Linked DNA regions of Homo sapiens: regions 2 and 3 are each linked to region 1. The links are contacts of gene promoters, found by promoter capture Hi-C in blood cells and fetal thymus (Javierre and others, 2016). All regions are on one chromosome and are shown on one strand. The core of a region is centred on a gene start or on the middle of the fragment in contact, and the rest is flanking DNA. Distances in the headings are between cores, read along the strand shown. Region 1 holds the start of PCDHB4 (protocadherin beta 4). Region 2 overlaps PCDHA1 (protocadherin alpha 1). Region 3 overlaps PCDHA1 (protocadherin alpha 1).

Region 1 (4,094 bases), core at 847-3,346:
GCTTAGGTATAGAAAAGAATGGTTTCTGGAGTCACATAGTAACAGTTTAAATCCTGGCTCTGCCGTTTCACATGCTGTATGACTTTGGACAGATTATTTAAACTCTGTGTGCCACAATTCTTCGTCTTTAAAATGTGGCTAATAAGACTGCCCACCTCATAGGGTTGTTGGGGTGATAAAATGAGTCAACATACGCAAAATGCTTAGAAAAATATCTGGTGTATAGTGGATATATATGTTAATGTTATTGAGATTTCATTTACTTTTGGATTGCAAAAGGAACTGAAAAGACCCAATTCTTACTCTATGTCAACATGTAGGAATAAGTAAACAAAATATGGTTTGAATTTTGTCCTGAATGCATTAACTTGAATCTAACTAAAACCTGGTTACTATATTAGAAACAATTTTCTCTTTGATTTGCCCAGGAGATTTGTTTTCCAGTTATGTCTAAAATAATACTCTTTCTTTTTATTCTTTTCAGTATATATTTTTATTGTTTTTCATTTAATAGTGATGCATAGTGTATCTTTTCTGATTTACTTTAAATGTGAAAGAAAATTCTAAGATGTTAATATTATTATTACTGCCATTGATATATCCCTTATAGGAATTAATTAATAGAAATAGAATCAAAGTAAATTTAGTTATATAATGCTTAGCATGTATTATATTCTCAAAATTCTGTATTCAGTTTCAGACATGTTCAAGGCTGAATATATGATCTGACAATAATCTGCTTATATAGATAAAAACATCATTTGAGTGGATTAATTTATTAATTCAACTGGTATTTACTAAATAAAATCCATGTATCTTTCACAATTTTTACTAATACTTTCTATCACTATCAGAATCTGAAATCTCAGATTTCATGCTTTAAAAAGAATTAATTTAACATGAATTATAAATTATAATTACTTATATGAATTGGATAACTAAATAAAATAACAAGATATTTAAGGGGAGAAAATCTTATATGTGGCAAGATAAGTGGTGCTCCATTCAGTGTATTAATTGCAACCAATAAATTGGTTAACTGTGTCTCAGTGGTACCATTCTTTCTTATTGTTTGAGAGTAATCACAGTAGCTACACACTGTGGTGGGATCCATTTTATACACAAGTCTCTTTACTTCACCATATCTGAGTAGAGACAGCCTAAGTCACCCTTTGGTCACAGAATAAAATATTTTAAATCAGTGCTTCTTGTTTTCCCCAAAATTAGCTGGTCAAGGAATATGATATCTGGGATACAAAAGGTGAGTGTGGTAACAGGCAAACTCATTGTAAAATATAGATTACATCTATCTTGCTAAATAAGCTCAGCTTAAAGCCTTTATCTTCACAAAATTCTGTGACTGTTACTCACTTTTGTCTTGACATTATCCTCATAATAGTCACATAGAATAATCAAGTCCTGTTACCCTCTGAGCTTCAGTTTTAGTTTCCTTATCTTTTATTTCCTCTTTAGTTCTAAGAATCTGTGATTCTAATACTATTTGCCTTACTCCTAGGTTCAATGTAGGTTCACACTATAAATTACTTGATACAAAACAAGATACCTGTCTATTCACCTGTATTACTATTTGCACATTAAAGTAGGAAAATAGAACCTTTCGTTTCAAAGGTAGTCGCGCTTTAGACCATGTATAGAGAACATCTTAAACTTTTGCATCATCACAAAGTCCTCACATTCTTAGAAAAGAACATTTATAACTACTAAGAATTGAATTGAAAGTGTATAAAAATTTGTCTCCTGTGGCTGGATTATGTAAAGAAGAAATGGAGTTCTTTGAAGTTTCACTGATAAGCGTGTGGGGAGTCTGAGATATCTTCTTGATTTGTGCTCATGATTATTCTGGTTCGTGCACTGTAATTAAATAACCTTTTAAATTATGCAGTTTAATGTAACAAAGTTTGTAAAAATTCTATGCTCTTAAAAATGGCTTTTATTTTAAAACTTCCCAAATACGTTGTCTTGAAGTTGTTAATTTCTCAATCAAGACGCAGGGTGGCGCTGCAGGCTAAGTTGTGAATAATGAGCCCTAAAAAGCTCGCGCGTATTCTTCTGTGTCGCTAGACGCAATCAAAAACACACGGAAGAAGCGTTACAAGCAGTGCAGGTTTACCAACGGCTTGGGGCAGCGATATACTAAACAAATTTAATATTAAAAGCAACTGTGTGACGATTCCTCCAAGCAAGAAATTGGAATTGAATGTCTCAAGTCTCGTTGCGGTTGCTGAGGGGATTGGATATAGGGACCTGGACTCCAACATGAAGAAGCTAGGGAGAATTCATCCAAACAGGCAAGTGTTGGCCTTTATTTTGATGGTGTTCTTGTCTCAGGTTCGCCTCGAGCCTATTCGTTATTCTGTGTTGGAGGAAACAGAGAGCGGCTCCTTTGTAGCCCATCTGGCCAAGGATCTGGGCCTGGGAATTGGGGAACTGGCCTCCCGGTCAGCCCGGGTGCTGTCTGACGATGACAAGCAGCGTTTGCAGCTGGATCGTCAGACTGGAGATTTGCTTCTGAGGGAGAAACTAGACCGGGAAGAGCTCTGTGGTCCTATTGAACCGTGTGTACTGCATTTCCAAGTGTTCCTGGAAATGCCGGTGCAATTTTTTCAAGGAGAATTATTGATCCAGGACATAAATGATCACTCTCCAATATTCCCTGAAAGGGAAGTGCTCTTGAAAATACTAGAAAATAGCCAGCCGGGTACTCTATTTCCGTTGCTAATAGCTGAGGATTTGGATGTGGGCAGCAATGGTCTTCAAAAATACACAATCAGCCCCAATTCTCATTTTCACATTCTCACTCGAAATCATAGTGAGGGCAAGAAATACCCAGATTTGGTGCAGGACAAACCACTGGATCGAGAGGAGCAGCCTGAGTTCAGCTTAACCCTCGTGGCGCTGGATGGTGGGTCACCACCTAGGTCTGGCACGGTCATGGTTCGAATCCTGATCATGGACATCAATGACAATGCTCCTGAGTTTGTGCACACTCCATATGGGGTGCAGGTCCTGGAAAACAGCCCCCTAGACTCTCCAATTGTTAGGGTCTTAGCTAGAGATATAGATGCTGGAAACTTCGGGAGTGTTTCTTATGGCTTATTCCAAGCATCAGATGAAATTAAACAAACTTTCTCAATAAATGAAGTCACGGGAGAAATACTGTTGAAAAAAAAATTGGATTTCGAAAAAATTAAATCTTACCATGTAGAAATTGAGGCCACAGATGGAGGAGGCCTTTCTGGAAAAGGCACTGTAGTCATAGAGGTGGTGGATGTGAATGACAATCCCCCAGAACTTATCATATCTTCACTCACCAGCTCCATCCCAGAAAATGCTCCTGAGACGGTAGTCTCTATCTTCCGAATTCGAGATAGAGATTCCGGAGAAAATGGAAAGATGATTTGCTCTATTCCAGATAATCTACCGTTTATTCTAAAACCAACTTTGAAGAATTTTTACACCCTGGTAACAGAGAGACCACTGGACCGAGAGACCAGCGCTGAGTACAACATCACCATCGCCGTCACTGACTTGGGGACACCCAGGCTGAAAACCCAGCAGAACATAACCGTGCAGGTCTCCGACGTCAATGACAACGCCCCCGCCTTCACCCAAACCTCCTACACCCTGTTCGTCCGCGAGAACAACAGCCCCGCCCTGCACATCGGCAGTGTCAGCGCCACAGACAGAGACTCGGGCACCAACGCCCAGGTCACCTACTCGCTGCTGCCGCCCCAGGACCCGCACCTGCCCCTCGCCTCCCTGGTCTCCATCAACGCAGACAACGGCCACCTGTTCGCCCTCAGGTCGCTGGACTACGAGGCCCTGCAGGCGTTCGAGTTCCGCGTGGGCGCCTCAGACCGCGGTTCTCCGGCTTTGAGCAGCGAGGCGCTGGTGCGCGTGCTGGTGCTGGACACCAACGACAACTCGCCCTTCGTGCTGTACCCGCTGCAGAATGGCTCCGCGCCCTGCACCGAGCTGGTGCCCCGGGCGGCCGAGCCGGGCTACCTGGTGACCAAGGTGGTGGCGGTGGACGGCGACTCGGGCCAGAACGCCTGGCTGTCGTACCAGCTGCT
Region 2 (4,094 bases), core at 482-2,981, 230 kb before region 1:
TGGTGATTTGTGAGATTTTGGTGCATCCATCACCTGAGCAGTATACATTGCACCATATTTGCAATCTTTTATCCCTCGCCACCCCCCACTCTTGCCCCCAAGTCCCCAACGTCCATTGTATAGGATTTTTGAATTTGTGAATTAATGCCTTTACATCACTTTGAGCATATCCTCAGCTATAATGTTCTCCAATGTTGCTTCTGTTCCATTGTATTTCTATAGTATTATTTTAGTACTCTAATTAAACATATTTTAATCTTATTACTCTATCCCATCTATTTCTACCTTTTATTTTAACACCTTTTGCTCTTTGGGCTTTATTGTGGATAGTTCACCCACCTTAAAGTTTAATAATTCTCTCTTCTTGCTGTTGTCTGAATTTGTACCCCCAAATTCATGTGTTGAAAATTCAATCCCTTATACAACAGTGTTGGGAGGTGGGGAATTTCAGGAAATGTTTAGATTATGAGGGATCTGCCCTCATGAATAAATTAACGGCACTGTAAAAGGACTTGATGGAAGGAGCCTGTCCCTCTCTTATGCTTTTGGCTCTGTCATGTGACGATGCAGCAAGAAGATCTTCACCAGATGCTGGTGCCTTGATCTTGGACTTCCCCTAGGCTCCAGAATTGTGAGAAGTAAATTTCCGTTCTCATAAATTACTCAGTCTGTGGCATTCTGTTATAGCAGCACAAATGGTCTAAGATACTTTTATTTATTCTTTTTCAAATTTATTGTTACTTTGTATAATTTCTAGTTTCCTCTCGAAACTTTCAAGCTTGGCATTTATATCTGGAACACAATAAGCTCATGGTTTTAGCGTCTATTTCTGATATGTCCAGTAACTGGGATCCTCATGGGTCTATTCCTGTGGTGTGTTTTAAAATTGTATCTTTATGGTGTTTTGTCTCCACATAAACCTGGTTATCTTTGATTTTGTGCTGAAAGTTGTATTAAACACTTCTTCCTGGAAATAATTTGGGGCTTATAACATTTTCTTTCTCCAGAATGGATTTTAATTGACTTTTGCCAGGCATCTTGGGGCACTAGCAATCATGGGTAATCTTAATCTATTTCAAGCTTCAGGTATTCTAGATAAAACCTCATTATCTAAAATTTACATGTATTCTTTAAGTACGGTTATTCAGTTTCCTAGCCAAACATGAGAGATTGTTTAAGAAGTTCCACCATGACTGGTAGACTCAGGATTCTGACTTTTGTTTCTCTAGTCCTTGGAGACTGTCAAAAGTATATCTCAGTATTCATTCACCTATTTTTTTCCTTTTATTTCCAGTTGGTACATAATAATTGTACATATTTATAGGATACAGAGTGACATTTTGATACATATATACAATGTATAATAATAAAATCAGGGTAATTAGCATATTCATAATCTCAAACATTTACCATTTTTGCATGGTGAACATTTAAAATCCACTCTTCTAGCTTCTTGAAAATATGTAAGAAATTATAGTTAACCATATTTATCCTACAGTGCTACAGTGCTGCAAAACACCACAACCCATTCCTCCTGTGTAGCTATAATTTCGTATCCATTAACCAACCTTTCCCCATCCTCCTTTTCCTTCACCCTTCCCAGCCTCTGATAAGCACAATACTACTTCCATGAGCTCAATAAAATTTTGTAGCTGCCGTATAAGTGAGAACATGTATTTATTTTTCTGTGCCTGACTTATTTCACTTAACATATGCCCTCCAGGCTCAGCCATACTGCCATGAATAACAGGATTTCATTCTTTTTTATGGCTGGATAATATTCCGTTGTGCATATACACCACATTTTCTTTATCCACTCATCTGTTGATGGATATTGAGGTTGATTCCACATAGTAGCTATTGTGAATAGTGCTGCAGTAAGTATGGGAGGTGCAGGTATCACTTTGACATACTGGTTTCCTTTTCTTTGGATAAATGCCCAATAGTGGAATTGCTGGATGATATGGTAGTTCTATTTGTAGTTTTTTGAGGGACTCCCATACTGTTTTCCTTAGTGGCAGTGCTAATTTACATGCCCACCAACAGCATTTATGGGACAGTGGCTCATGCCTGTAATCCCAGCACTTAGGGAGGCAGAGGCAGGAAGATCGCTTGAAGCCAGGAGTTCAAGACCAGCCTGGGCAACATAGCAAGACCCTGTTCTTCACAAAAAAGAAAAAAAAAGCAGTTGTAGAACTCCTTTAAGTATTTCTTGTAGGACTTATCTAGTTGTAGTGTACTTCCTCAGTTTTTGCTTGTTTGGGAAATACTTTATTTCTCCTTCATTTCTGAAGTATAGCTCTGCTTGGTATAGTATTTTTGGCTGATAGTTTTAAAAAATTTCAGCACTTTGGATATATCATCTCATTCTATCCTAGCCTGTAAAGCTTCTGCTGAGAAATCTGCTGTTAGTCTGATGGGAATTTTCTTATAGGTGACTTGTCACTTTTCTTTTACCGTTTTTAGAATTCCCTCCTTGTCTTGAGTCTGGTACCGTAGACTACTCAGCCATCCTGATGCCCTACCTCTTGTATAGAAACAACCCAGATCCAAAGTGGCCAGAAAGTTACTTTACCTTCTGAATTTGTGGTCTTTTTCAGAATCTCTACCTGTTAATTCTGCATGACTTTATTAGTCATTAGATACTTTTATAATTTTAAAATATCTCCAATTGTATGGTTGGTTCAAATTACCAGTTCTGCATACTGGTAATGTAAGTCCTCTGTTGAATTGATTTTTAAATACATTTATTTTATTCCAGTATCTTCTAGCTCCTGGTGTTGCAGATGAGAAGTTTCAAATAACTTGAAATAATTCCCTTCTATGTAATTATCCCTGATTTTGACTTTCTTTCCATAGTTATATATTTTTTCTATGCTATTATATTCTCATTTTAAAGATGTTGAATGACAATGTAATTTTCTTTTCTTTACAAGTGGTAGCTTATTTACAAGTATTTTTGAAGTTTATTTTCCTGGAAAGTTTTCTTAAATTATAGATTTTAGTATTTCTTCTGTTTTATTACTTCAGATTTCTTCTTCAATGGCTCCAATTATATTTGTATTAGATATTCTTTGCTTTTCTTTTGTAGCTAACACTCCTAAATCCTACCTAGCTCTTTTTTAAAAAATATTTTACTTTTTATTCTTGTTTTCATCTTATAGTTTTCTTTAGGCATTATCCATAGTGTTTATATGCTGTTATGTGCCTTCTGGTTTAGTGTTTACTTCTGAAAAAATTATTTTCCTTTTTTTTAATATTTTACTGAGTTTTCTCATCTCTCTTTTCAAAGCTTTTCTTCTCCAATCATATCATTACTGAGTCTCTCTAATTCTGATTTGTGTATTCTTGCATAGCTTTTCATTATTTTCTAAAAATGTTTAAGTTGTTTTCAAATATTACGTAGCAATTTGTGGAATTTTTTTTCTTGTGTGTATTTATTTCCTTTAGTGTAATTATTTGTCCTCTCCTTTAAAAATAATTTTATATCAGATTTGCCCATAATCCTTTTCTTATGCTCATTTTTATATGAAAAGTGCTCCCCCATAATTTTAGAAGAAACAGACCAGGATAATTTTCCTATCTTTGTTGCTCTATAGATTTCTATTCAGCTATTGTCATGAAATGATAAAAATATAATTTTTTAATGTCTTACTTTGTGACATCCTTTACCCTTTTTACTTGGACCTTTTTCCTTTGTTTAATTGTCCCCCACCCACACCATTCTGCTTCATATGGACTCAATTCCTATCAGTTCCTCCTCAGTATAGGGGTTTTTGCTACAAGAAGACATTTGTTAGTTGACAAGTTCATAGGGCTAAGACAGGTTTAGCACAATCCAATCTATTTGTAGTCCCTTCTGCTAAGTTTTGAATTTGCTTTTATTTCTAATATTTTACTGAGTTTTCTCATCTCTCTTTTCAAAGCTTTCTTTTTTTTCTTACTCAGGGATAATTGAATTAGGACCTTCGATTTCCCCCCTTCCACCCATGACTATTGTTCTCAAATTGTTTTACTATGCTTTCCAGTGAGTACTTATTGGCACTTTTTGGAGTTCTTCAATTCTCAACACCATCAAAAGCCCCATAACCTTC
Region 3 (4,094 bases), core at 536-3,035, 190 kb before region 1:
ATAGAGAGATCCCATGTGCTTGTCACCCACTTTTCCCCAGTGATAACACCCTGAATCCTTTTCATGTGAGTCTTAATAGTCTTTTGAATGCTTCCTTGATTTCTGGTATTACAAGATGTTCAGATTATCTTGTACATTTCCTTTCCCAGAATCAGCCATTTTTCAAAGAGCTTTCACTTATTTTTAGTGAAAGATGATACTTAGAGATATAATCTCAACAACAGGTGTGCTTATTGCTGCTGGGTCAGTTGCTGTTTCTAGGTATCTTCAGCTACTGAGCTAAGGGATGTCTATTTTTTAAAAGATAAAATACATCACATGTTTATACTAATCTAATAAAGTTCAGCACTCCGAGGTTTTTACTTAACTTCATCAATCTTACATTCCTATTTCTCCCATACGTCAAATCCCAGTTTTCATTAACGTCAACAGAATTACTCATTTGTTATCCCACGGGACTCAAACAATGGACTTAGAAAACAATTTCAGCACTACAGAAATAATATGATACTGTAGCAGTTTAAGTTTTTGTCATTCTTTTCATTTATAAGGCACATCCTTACAAATGCCCAGTAGGCATGTACAGTCAAATTATTGTGTTTTAAAGTATCTTGGAAAAGTTCCTCTCTGTGTAGTTAAGCCACCAGCTAGATACAGAGCTAGGCTTTTTTCAAGTCGCTTTCAAATTTAGGGCTTGCTTTTTAAATTTTAATTTTCTTTTATAATTATGTGAAATATTTACATGGCTCCAAAATAAACTTATAAAACAAAATATATTTAGAGAAGTCTAGTATCTATTATTCCATACAATACACATTCTTCCCCACTTTGAGTTTTTTCACTTAAAAATATAAACGAGATTATTTCATAGTAGTATAGTATTTACACATATTCCATACTGCTTAATGGTGTCTTTTGATTAGCAATTAATGAGCTCCAATTTATCAATATTATCTTTTTTTTTTTTTTTTGAGACAGATTCTCATTCTGTTGCCCAGGCTGGAGTAAAGTGGTACAATCTTGGCTCACTGCAATCTCTGCCTCCCGGGTTCAAGCGATTCTCCCACCTCAGCCTCCCGAGTAGCGGGGATTACAGGCACCCACCACCACACCCGGCTAATTTTTATACTTTTAGTAGAGACAGGGTTTCACCATGTTGGCCAGGCTGGTCTCGAACTCCTGACCTTAAGTGATCTGCCCGCCTTGGCCTCCTAAAGTGCTGGGATTAGAGGCCTAAACCACCACGCCCAGCCAAAGTTGTCTTTTTTATTTAGTATTCTTTCTATCCTTTTAAAGAAAACATATCCTGCTTCAAGTCATGAAGATATATTCCTGTGTTTTCTTCTATAACATTGCTATCCAATAGAACTTTCTGACATGCTATAAATTTTCTCTATCTGCATATATGGAATGTGTAGCTACTGAGCACTTGAAATGTGGCTAGTGAAACTGGGCTACTCAATTTTTAATGTTACTAATTTTAATTAATTTAAGCTTAAATAACCACATCTGTTTAGTGGTTGCTGTAGTTCTGGAAGCTTTCTTGTTTTAACTTGCACATTTAGATCTTAAATTACCTGAAATTGCTTTTGAATATAGTGCAATGTAGAAGTCAAGATTTATATTTTCCACTTGTAAATCCAGTTAGATTGCCTACTTTCCTCGCTGCTACTGTGCAGTGCTACCTTTGTCATAAGCAACGTGACTTTATATATTCTGTTTCTGGACTGTCTATTCTGTTTCATTGGTCAACTTGTCTATTCTTGTGCCAATACATTCTGTGTTAAATATAGTAACTTTTCATTTGTATTGATATCTAATTGTGTAAGTTCTCTCACTTTGTTATTCTGCTTCAAGATTAACTTAGCTATTTTTGGCCCTTTGCATTTCTATATAAATTGTAGATTCAGCTTCTCAGTTTCTATTTTAAAAAACCCTGCTTTGATTTTAATTGGCACTATATTGAATCTGTAGAAAATATGGGGTATATTGAAAATATCTTATTTTGATCTTTATTGAATCTATAAAAATATGAAGCTTGTTAACATTGACAATATTGAGACAGACAACCGATTAACAAGGTATATTCTTCCATTTATCTTTTTTTTTTTTTTTTGAGACGGAGTCTCGCTCTGTCGCCCAGGCTGGAGTGCAGTGGCGCAGTCTCGGCTCACTGCAAGCTCCGCCTCCCGGGTTCATGCCATTCTCCTGCCTCAGCCTCCCGAGTAGCTGGGACTACAGGCGCCCGCCACCATGCCCGGCTAATTTTTTGTATTTTTTGTAGAGACGGGGTTTCACCGTGTTAGCCAGGATGGTCTCGATCTCCTGACCTCGTGATTCACCCGCTTCGGCCTCCCAAAGTGCTGGGATTACAGGCGTGAGCCACCGCGCCCGGCTTCTTCCATTTATTTTATTATTTTATCTTAATGTTTATGTGTGTGTATGTGTATATAGGGGTATTGCACAACTTTTATTAGATAGCTGATATTTTAATGCTATTTTAAAAGTTTAATTTTATAATACAAAAATTAGCTGGACATGTTGGCACATACCCGTAATCCCAGCTACTCAGGAGGCTGAGGCAGGAGAATTGCTTGAACCTGCGAGGCAGAGGTTGCAGTGAGCTGGGATCGCGTCACTGCACTCTAGCCTGGGCAACAGAGTGATACTCCATCTAAAAAGAAAAAGAAAGGCAGGGCATGGTGGCTCACGCCTGTAATCCCAGCACTTTGGGAGGCTGAGGCAGGCGGATCACGAGGTCAGGAGATCAAGACCATCCTGGCTAACACGGTGAAACCCCGTCTCTACTAAAAATACAAAAAATTAGTCGGGCGTGGTGGCGGGCGTATGTAGTCCCAGCTACTCGGGAAGCTGAGGCAGGAGAATGGCATGAACCTGGAAGGCGGAACTTGGAGTGAGCCGAGATCGCGCCACTGCACTCCAGCCTGGGCGACAGAGTGAGACTCCGTCTCAAAAAAAAAAAAAAAAGTTTAATTTGATAATTGGCTTTTGTTGAAAGTATATAGAAATAATACTGATTTTATGTTAACTTTGTATCCAATGTTCTTGCTAAATAGTAAAATCTCATATTTTTATATTTTGGGTTTTCTACATATACTGTCATGCTATTCCCAAATAATGTTAGTTTTATTATTGTATTTTTTACTTTCTCTCTTTTTTTAAAAAAATAGAGATAGAGTCTCACTACATTGCCCAGGCTAGTCTGGAGCTCCTGGGCTCAAGCAATCCTCCCACGCCAGCCTCCCAAAGTGCTGGGATTACAGGCATAGGCCACCATGCCTGGTCTTTTAAAAACTTTCTAATCACATAGTTTTCTTGCTTTCTGTCATTGCCTATGAAATTCAGTATAAAATTGAATAGAAGTAATGTTAATGGATAATCTTGTCTTATTCCTGGTCTCAGAGAGGAAGTTTTTAAATATTTAATATGAAATACATTGTTTGATTGGGTTTATTTGCAAAAATCCTTTATCAGATTTATTAAGTTCCCTTTGTTTTTTAATTTATTATGTTTTTTAAAAATCATGAATAGGCATTGAATTTATCACATATTTTCTGTTATTGAATGGATAATATGGATTTTTATCCTTTTATTAATAGCATGCATTATATTGGTTGATTTGTTAATGATAAACCAATCTTGCATTCTTGGAATAAACTCAGGTTGCTTATGATGTATAATCCTTCTTTATATCATTAGACTTAGTTTCCTAACATTTTCTTTACAGTTTTTAAATATATGTTTATGATAGAAACGCGTTTCTACAGAAAAAAATAATTATTTTTAAAGGCATAGTTATTGGGTACTAGACTTAGTACCTGAATGATGAAATAATCGGTACCACAAACCCCTGTGACATGAGTTTGCGTTATAACAAACCTGCCCATGTACCCCTGAACTTAAAAGTTAAGAAGCAACACACACACACACAGATGCGCACACACACACACGCACAAGAAATTGGCTTTTAACTTTCCATTCTTATAATGCTCTAGTCGGAGTTTGGCATCAAGGCTATCCTGGCTTTATATAGTAAGTTAAGAAGTGTTACTTTTCTTTTACTTATTCGGAAG

The links. Contacts are between HindIII fragments. The CHiCAGO score rates a contact against its expected background, and 5 or more counts as called.
Region 2: a fragment that was not itself captured here is called in contact with the fragment with the promoter of PCDHB4 in region 1 in 1 of 17 cell types (M0 macrophages); the score reaches 6.2 in M0 macrophages.
Region 3: a fragment that was not itself captured here is called in contact with the fragment with the promoter of PCDHB4 in region 1 in 1 of 17 cell types (M0 macrophages); the score reaches 6.5 in M0 macrophages.

The regions. Positions count from the first base shown.
Region 1 is chr5:141,119,722-141,123,815 of GRCh38, forward strand. It overlaps PCDHB4 (protocadherin beta 4), which reads left to right and starts at 2,097. Exons shown (of 1, transcript NM_018938.4): 1 at 2,097-4,094. The coding sequence starts at 2,278. It also overlaps PCDHB@. The HindIII fragment of the contact is 8,854 bases long and covers 1-4,094 here.
Region 2 is chr5:140,891,323-140,895,416 of GRCh38, forward strand. The region is part of intron 1 of PCDHA1 (protocadherin alpha 1); the gene reads left to right. All of the region lies in intron 1 of PCDHA2 (protocadherin alpha 2), which reads left to right. The region is part of intron 1 of PCDHA3 (protocadherin alpha 3); the gene reads left to right. All of the region lies in intron 1 of PCDHA4 (protocadherin alpha 4), which reads left to right. It also overlaps PCDHA5, PCDHA6, PCDHA7, PCDHA8, PCDHA9 and PCDHA10, and 4 more genes. Among named protein-coding and RNA genes, the nearest start is that of PCDHA13, 11 kb to the left of the region's middle. The HindIII fragment of the contact is 1,307 bases long and covers 1,079-2,385 here.
Region 3 is chr5:140,934,940-140,939,033 of GRCh38, forward strand. The region is part of intron 1 of PCDHA1 (protocadherin alpha 1); the gene reads left to right. All of the region lies in intron 1 of PCDHA2 (protocadherin alpha 2), which reads left to right. All of the region lies in intron 1 of PCDHA3 (protocadherin alpha 3), which reads left to right. All of the region lies in intron 1 of PCDHA4 (protocadherin alpha 4), which reads left to right. It also overlaps PCDHA5, PCDHA6, PCDHA7, PCDHA8, PCDHA9 and PCDHA10, and 5 more genes. Among named protein-coding and RNA genes, the nearest start is that of PCDHAC1, 11 kb to the left of the region's middle. The HindIII fragment of the contact is 499 bases long and covers 1,537-2,035 here.